Linked DNA regions of Homo sapiens: region 2 is linked to region 1. Evidence: promoter capture Hi-C in human tissues and cell types (Jung and others, 2019). All regions are on one chromosome and are shown on one strand. Each heading gives the region's core, a stretch centred on a gene start or on the middle of the fragment in contact. The rest is flanking DNA. Distances are from core to core; before and after follow the strand shown. Region 1 holds the start of FAM215A (family with sequence similarity 215 member A). Region 2 holds the start of LOC105371789 (a long non-coding RNA gene).

The links. The method cuts DNA at HindIII sites, captures the fragments that hold promoters and counts their contacts. A contact is called where the count stands out against the background at its distance.
Region 2: a fragment that was not itself captured here is called in contact with the fragment with the promoter of FAM215A in region 1 in 1 of the 25 tissues and cell types used here (IMR-90 fibroblasts).

The regions. Positions count from the first base shown.
Region 1 is chr17:43,915,505-43,919,329 of GRCh38, forward strand. It overlaps FAM215A (family with sequence similarity 215 member A), which reads left to right and starts at 1,704. Exons shown (of 1, transcript NR_026770.1): 1 at 1,704-2,483. It overlaps LOC105371787 (a long non-coding RNA gene), which reads right to left and starts at 1,720. Exons shown (of 2, transcript XR_001752898.2): 1 at 1,634-1,720. LOC107985086 (a long non-coding RNA gene) reads left to right here and starts at 3,343. Exons shown (of 2, transcript XR_001752899.2): 1 at 3,343-3,825. RefSeq lists enhancers at 1,526-2,347, 2,348-3,168. The HindIII fragment of the contact is 7,093 bases long and covers 1-3,825 here.
Region 2 is chr17:44,113,904-44,117,437 of GRCh38, forward strand. The region is part of intron 2 of HDAC5 (histone deacetylase 5); the gene reads right to left. It overlaps LOC105371789 (a long non-coding RNA gene), which reads left to right and starts at 2,009. Exons shown (of 3, transcript NR_136415.1): 1 at 2,009-2,092. The HindIII fragment of the contact is 6,162 bases long and covers 1-3,534 here.

The DNA of each region.
Region 1 (3,825 bases), core at 454-2,953:
GTACTAAGGACATGGAGTTCAGAGAGGCTGATAACTGGCCCCCGACCACACCCAGCCAGCAGCTCCAGGGTCTCTAGTCCTCACAGTCCCTGGCATTGCATCTGAGAGTAGGGGCAGAGCTAATGCCATCAGTAGGAGTCACTTTTGTCCCCTAACTTAGGGGAGACTGTCCTGTCCTTACAAAGGAATGTGTAAGCACAGCTGATCAACATCTGCATAAGGAAAGATGTTTCTTTATGCATTTCTGGCTCCATCGAGACTCGTGACTCAACCAGTCCTGTGGCTGCCAACCAGAAGCAGACTCAGCATTCAAGGACCATTTTCCATACCCCTATATCTGCATGCCCAACCAATCAGCAGCACCTCTACCCTACCCTAGACCCTGCCCACCAAACTATCTTTGAAAAACTAATCTTCAAGTTTTGGGGGAGACCGATTTGAGTAATAACTATTTCCTGTGTGCCCGGCCTTGTGTCAATTACTCTTTCTTTACTGCAATGCCATGGTCTCAGTGGATTGGTTTTGTCTGTGCAGTAGGCAGGAAGAACCCATCAGGTGATTACAGTACCTGCACCCCCAACCTGCTTTGGGAAGAATCCAGCCAAAAAACTTGAGGCCTGCAGCCTCAGGGTGAGAACAAGACAAAAGGGGGATGGAGGGAGATTGACTCGCTGTGTCTCAGCTCCAGAGCAGCCCCCCTGCAGCCTCCCAAGGGTTTATGCAAATCATCAAAGGGATTCCTTGAGGCAAAAGGTTTGAGTCTGCAGTTCTGAGACCCCCAAGGATGTGAGGAGAGACCCAGGCCTATCTCCTTTGGGAGGGGCCCCAAACTTGGGGGAAGGGATACTGGATGCCAACTGAAACCCAAACATAAAATTCTAAGCTCACCCAACCATCTGAATGGACTCCTCCTCTCCACTCAGCAAAGGGCATTCCAAAGTTAACCTGAAAACTAGTTCAGGCCATGATGGGAAGGGGAGCCCAGTCATGCCTAATTATACGATCCCTCCTTTTGGACTTACTGATAGAACAGACTCTTTAAGTCTGAAAGGAAACATTTACAGTCTATTCTCTCTGAAGCCTGCCACCTGGAGGCTTCACCTGCGTGATAAAACCTTGGTCTCCACAATCTCTTATCTTAACCCAAACATTCCTTTCTGTTGATTTTAAGTCTTTAGACAGTAATTTAACTCTTTCCACCAATTGCCAATCAGAAAATCTTTCGATCTACTTATAACCTGGAAGTCGTCCACTTCCCCAACCCCATTCCAGTTGTCCAGCCTTTCCAGATCAAACCACTGTACATGTCGCATATATTATTGATGTCCGATGTCTCCCTGAAACACATAAAACCAAGTTGTGGCCTGATCACCTTGGGCACATGTTCTCAGGATCTGCTGAAGGCTGTCATGGGCCATTGGTCATGCATAGTAGGCTCAAAATAAATCCCTTCAAATATTTTACAGAGTTTGACTCTTTTGGTTGACACACCAAGCTCAAGCAGGAAGAACCGGGCTCAAGAACTGTCTCTCTCCTTTCTCTCTGTTAGGCATGGGGGGGAAGGGAGTGTTGTGTTAGGCATGCGGAGGGGAAGGGAACAGGGTTGTGTGCAGAGGAAAATGCAAATTCTTACCTTGTCAGGGTCTCTGACCTGATGGCGACCCGTGGTGGAGTCTTCACAGAGACAGATACCACTGCAAGGGCAGACCCAGACTGTGCAACCCCCAAAGCAGGTCTCCTCACTCACCGGGATAGATAGAACTATCGGCCCCAATTCCTCAGCCCTACCTGCAACCACCGCTTGCCATGGTTTCCTTGTGGGTGGAGGGTACTTTCCCGCCCCCTGGTTTCGGGCTTGCCCACGTGGCTTGCTCTGGCCATGGAATGAAGCAGAAACGAAAGCCTGCCAGTTCTGAGCCTACGCCGGAAGACGCCTTGGGCGGTTCCGCGGTCCCTGTGCGCTTCCACCTTCACCCAGAAGGACTTCTCTGGTGCAGCCGCTGCTTCTTCAGCCACGGCCCAAAAGGATCGGAGCCCCCTGGCCGATCCGCAGGTCTGCAGGGAGCCACAGAGCGCAGCGGCCGGCCCAGCGTTCAAGCCCAAGCACAGGCCTGCGAGAACCTTGTTCCAGCCACCGTTTGGGATGGTTGATTAGGACTTGTTGCTGTGGCGGTAGCTCACCAATCCAATGCGTGCACCCGCTCCTTTATTAGGCTATAGGGCCAGTGGCTGCGACAGGGACCTGATACAACAGTGCGTTAAATAAGGAGCTTATTGAGCTATCATGTCGTAAGCCGGTGGAGAAGTCCAGGGCTAGTGTGGGGGCTCCGGCGGGGGCTGTGGCCCCCATCCGCATGGAGCCTCCCCACGGTTCACAGGTCTCGGTCTTCGGAGCCTTCAGCCCCGTGAGCCCGAACAGTCCACACGGCGGCGCCAGACCCTCTTCCCAACGCCACCCTCTGAAGCCTCCGCTCCAACCGTCTCCACTTCTGCTTCAGGCTCAGGATTTTCACTTTTCTCGAATGGGGGTGGCCCTCCCCTGATCTTCTGAGTCGCAACAGCATCTCCCTCCCTCCAGGACCTCAGAGCCAGAGCTGGGCGAGAGGCCCTGACCTCCGGGGTAGGGTGGCAGCATCCCTGTGAAGGTGCGGTCCTGCCTCCCATCCCCAGGCGCCCGGCCTCTCCCACCCTCAGCGCCCTGCTCACCGCCAGCTGAAGATGCCAGGGCACCTCTGCTTCCTCCCTGCCCTCTCTGCAGTATCGCAGAGTGAGCATAAAAGGGCTTAATATAGGCTTCACTGGTCGTGGTGGCTCGCGCCTGTGAACTCAGTAACTTGGGAGGCCAAGGCCGGAGGATCACTTGAGGCCAGGAGTTCAAAACCAGCCTGGGCAACAAGGTGAGGCCTGTCTCTAAAAAAAAAAAAAAAAAAAAAAAAGAAAAGAAAAGAATAAAATAGGTTCCTTTTTCTGGGAGATTGATGTAGGGGAGCGAGCGTGTGTGAGTTGGAAGGGAGGCATTGAGGATCAGCCATTTAAAGCAGCACACAAGGATGTTCAAGGCTAGAGATCCACAGGTGTATTTTCAGAAACTGAATTTCCTGGCTGGGCGTGGTGGCTCACACCTGTAATCCCAGCACTTTGGGAGGCCAAGGCAGGAGGATCACTTGAGGTCAGGAGTTCAAGACCAGCCTGGCCAACATGGTGAAATCTTGTTTCTACAAAAAATAAAAATAAAAATCAGCTGGGTGTGGTGGTGGGTGCCTGTAATCCAAGCTACTTGGGAGGCTACGGCAGGAGAATCACTTGAACCTGGAAGGTGGAGGTTGAGATCACACTACTGCACTCCAGCCTGGGTGACAGAGTGAGACTGTCTCCAGAAAAAATCCCAAAACAAACAAACAAAACCCCTGAATTTCCTTGTGGACACCTTTTCTCTGGCAGCCTTTTTGAATGAGGGCTATGTTTTCTCCAATACTATATGGCCTGCGGACCGCTCAGCTTTCATTCCAGTGAAAACATTCCAGAACAAACTCCGGGTCAATCCCAGGTGTTTTTCCAATCAACTCGGGATGATTGTGTGTCACCTGCCGCCCAGCTAGAATGACACCTCTCCAGGCCTCTGACTTAGCTAGATCTCCACCATGTGACTCCACCATAGACTCCATGCCTTCTTCTTTTGCAAACCCTCGGACACCCAAACACCTACCAATTTCAGCCCTTTCTGTGCAGGTGCCGGAGCCCAGGAAGCACACATCAAGGCTCGCTTGCCAGCAGGGTGCTGCCAATAAAATGTAGTCACATGGAATTTGGAATGTGGAAAGGAGG
Region 2 (3,534 bases), core at 64-2,563, 200 kb after region 1:
CAGCTTCCCTGAGACCCAGATATCAGACCTGCCCACCCTCCTGTTCTTTCCTGCCCTTCGAGCCCAGTCATGCTGGAGCCCATCAGCATGGCCTGGGAGCTGCCATGTGCCAGCCAGGCCCCATGCTAGGTGTTGGCTGAACCCTCTCATTTGAAGCCAAGTCCAGGAAAAATGTGAACACCTACTTTGGCATCTTCTACTTCCCCTCAGGGTTGACCCTGCCTTCTCTGGCCATTCCATTCTAAGCCTTCAATCTCTTTGGAATGATAGAGCAGGGAAGAGGAGGGGAGAAGCAGGTCCCGCTCTGCAGTGAGCACAGAGGTGTGCCAGGGGGCATCTCAGTAGAGAAGGGAGGCCAGGAGTCTACTTCTCAGACCCCAGCCCCATGCCAGGATTGACCCACTTTCTCACTGCCTGCCTTCCCTGGGGGCTCTGAAGGAGGCAGAGCCCAAGGCTGGAAGGCAGGACACCGAGGTTCCTGGCTCCACCCCACACCCATGCCCCAGTTTCTCTGGTCACCCAGAGAGCAGGCGTGGGGGGGGGGGGCTGCTGCCCTCCATCCTGGAAAAGGGAAAGAGAGAAAGTGTGAAGGTTCTGGGAGGCGCTGGGCAGGCAGGTGTTGTCATGAAGCTTGTCTCCCTCCCACACTGGGGAGAAGGATCCTGGCCGCCTCCTCCATGGCCCCGCTGCCACCCAGACTGGCTTGCACAGTGGGCCTCACTCTTGCCTGCTCTTCTGGGCAATGGCACAAAGAGGGTACAACCAGAGCTGGCCTGGGTCCCAGGCCCCTGGGCAGCTCCTCCAACCTGGTTGGGCCGAGTCTGAGCTGAGGGAAAGTTCTGTCAGCCTTTCAGCCCCACTGAGGAGAACATGCAGAAGCAAACAGTTCCAGAAAAATAAAGACAGCCTTAATCCTCAAACCCCCTTTTGCCGGAAGAAAAGGCAGAGATCAGGGAATGGTCTCAGGGAAGCAGGCAACCCCATCAATAGCCTCCGCCTGTGATTCCAAGACTGCAAAAGAGGTAAATAAAGTCAAAGGCTGGTAGGCAGCCCGAGCCAGAGGGAAGTCATCAGCTCCCACCTTCCTGGGCAGTGGGCCCCAGAAGGAAATCACTCACAGTCTCCACCTGCTGCCCCTCACCAAAACAGTCTCTCTTGCTAACATGTTCACTGTGAGGACCAGGGATGGCCCATCTCATATTTTCTTCTGTCTTCCACAGGCTGAGCCTGTTGGTGATACTCAGTGAGGACTTGCCAAACTGAAAAGCTCCTACGCTGAGAGGACTTGAGGGGAACCAGAAGCTCTGCCCCTTACAAAGCCTACTGTCCTTTACTCTGGGGAAAGAGGAGCAAGTGTTCAGGGAAGTGAGGAAAAGGTGGGAGGCGCTCAGGGGCTGCAGCAGACCCTGGGGACTAACCATTTCCTTCCTTCCCACCTCTTATCTCCTGCCCCATGGCCCATACCTTTCCTTCTTGGGGCTCTCTACAGGGAAGTGGACACCCGCGTGCTCTGGCTTCAATCGGTGGTCTCACTTTACTTCCGCCGAGTTCCAAGGCATGTGGTTTCCAGGCTTCTGCCAGGCGCTGGGCACCCCAGCCCTAGCCCAGATGCCAGCCCAAGCTCTGGGAATAGCAGACGCTAGGCCCCTCAGAAAGGAAGAGCTGGGGGGAGGCTGACTATCTCCCTGGCCCAGGGCAGCTGGAACCCCACAACTGGGAAAGCCAGTCCAGAACCCCAGGAACACTCTGCAGGAAGGGCCTCAAGCAAACATCCCCAAGCAGTGGCCCCAGTTCCAAAGCCTCTCAACAATCCTAAAATGAGGTTCCCAATCCCTGGCCCCCTCCTTTTTTCCTTCTTTCCCCAACACAGAGAAGACAGCATCTCCCCCTGCTGGGGGGAGCTGGAAAGCCAGGCAGGACGCGGGGCCCATTCCACAGGCCCACTCAGGACGCCCCTCCTGGCCAGGGCTCAGCAGTGGCTCTCAAGCTGCCAGCCTCCTGCGTTGGTGGACACGTCCAGCTCCTCCAACACTCTTGTCAGCTCCCACAGAGGTAGCTGCAAGGGAAACTTGGACCGCCAGCATCTGGAAAGGTAACCCAATAACTTCATCTATCCTGGGTTGATTATCACATTTCCCTGCAAGGGAAAGAAACCCCAAAGCTGGGAAAAATCCTTTCCAAGCCACCAACAGATGCCGCTAGGCAGCTTCAATTCCCTTGGCCAAGAGTTAGACCCCAGCCCCATGGGAAGCAGGGACTGCAGATGGCTCCTGGACAGGTCAGCGTCACAACTCAGAGGAAAGAAGTAGCTGGCACTACTGCCCGACATGGCTGAGCTTGCTGGGGTAGTGTCCAGCCAAGATGCACGAGGGACAGATGAGGACCCAGGCCTCTCCTTTCCCTTCGCCATCCAGCCTCAGAGGGGCAAGCAAGAGGGCAGAGCTGGGCAGCCCACCTGTCCCAGCCCCTAGGGGCTGAATGAGGGCAAGGGCAGAGGGAGGAATATCTGAAGGAGAACAGCAAACCCTACAGAAAGGATGATGGGGAAGAAAATGTGGGGTGGTCTGGATTCCTCCCTGATGCTGCTTCTGTACAATCCTGCAAATGGGTATTCATCCTAGGCCCCAATTGCCCTATCTCTAAAAGGAGAAATATCCACCTACCCCTACATAAAAAAGATGAGGAGTACGATGGGCCGTGGAGAGCTAAAGTTGAGCAAGATGGACCTTTAACACTGTGTGGAAGGAGACACCCGAGGAGGAGGAGACGACAGCCACTACTCTGACCACACTGCCCCAGGACCCTCCTGGGAAACTGCTGAGGGTCCAGCTCAGGCCACTAGAACACAGCCTCACAGGCATACATCCAGACCCAGCTGCACATCAAGCTGCCTAGAGTCCCCCAAATAGACTATTTCTGGCAGCACTGGACAGGGTCCTAGGAACAAAGAGGAACAGGAAATCTCAGAGTAAAAGACCCCAGATTAGCAATCTACCATATGAAGGGCCCAAGAGGAAGAGAGGCAGTCTACCTGGACTCAGAGGAGAGCCGAGACTCCTCTACACACGTCACCCCACTCCCACCCAATGCCACGCACCTGCACACGGAGGTTAAGGCCCAGTGCCCTTGTAAACCTCCACTAAGAAAAAAGTATGGAACACAAACATTCCACTAAGTAAAGAAGCCACCATCACGAAAAGGAAGCTGAGCATTCTGCTATAGTAAAGAAATTCCTCCAACATCATCCCAGACTGCCCAGAGAGATTAAGGGATACACACTGCCCCCTCAGGCCCACCTGTCTTGGCTAGCAGGGGAAGGCGAAGCTGGAGCTGAACACCCCTAAGTTGAGAGGGCAAGCATGGGGGGCAGAGTAGGACCCATTGCCTTCCCAGGACCAGACCGGACCATCGATCCCTCGATTCCCAGGTCTACCTCATGGGCCCTTTCTTGCAACACTTCTCCACTCCTTACCCCCTCATTCCCTTATAGCTCAGACAGTAAAGGTCAGCTGGCCTGGAAGGGAAACCCACACA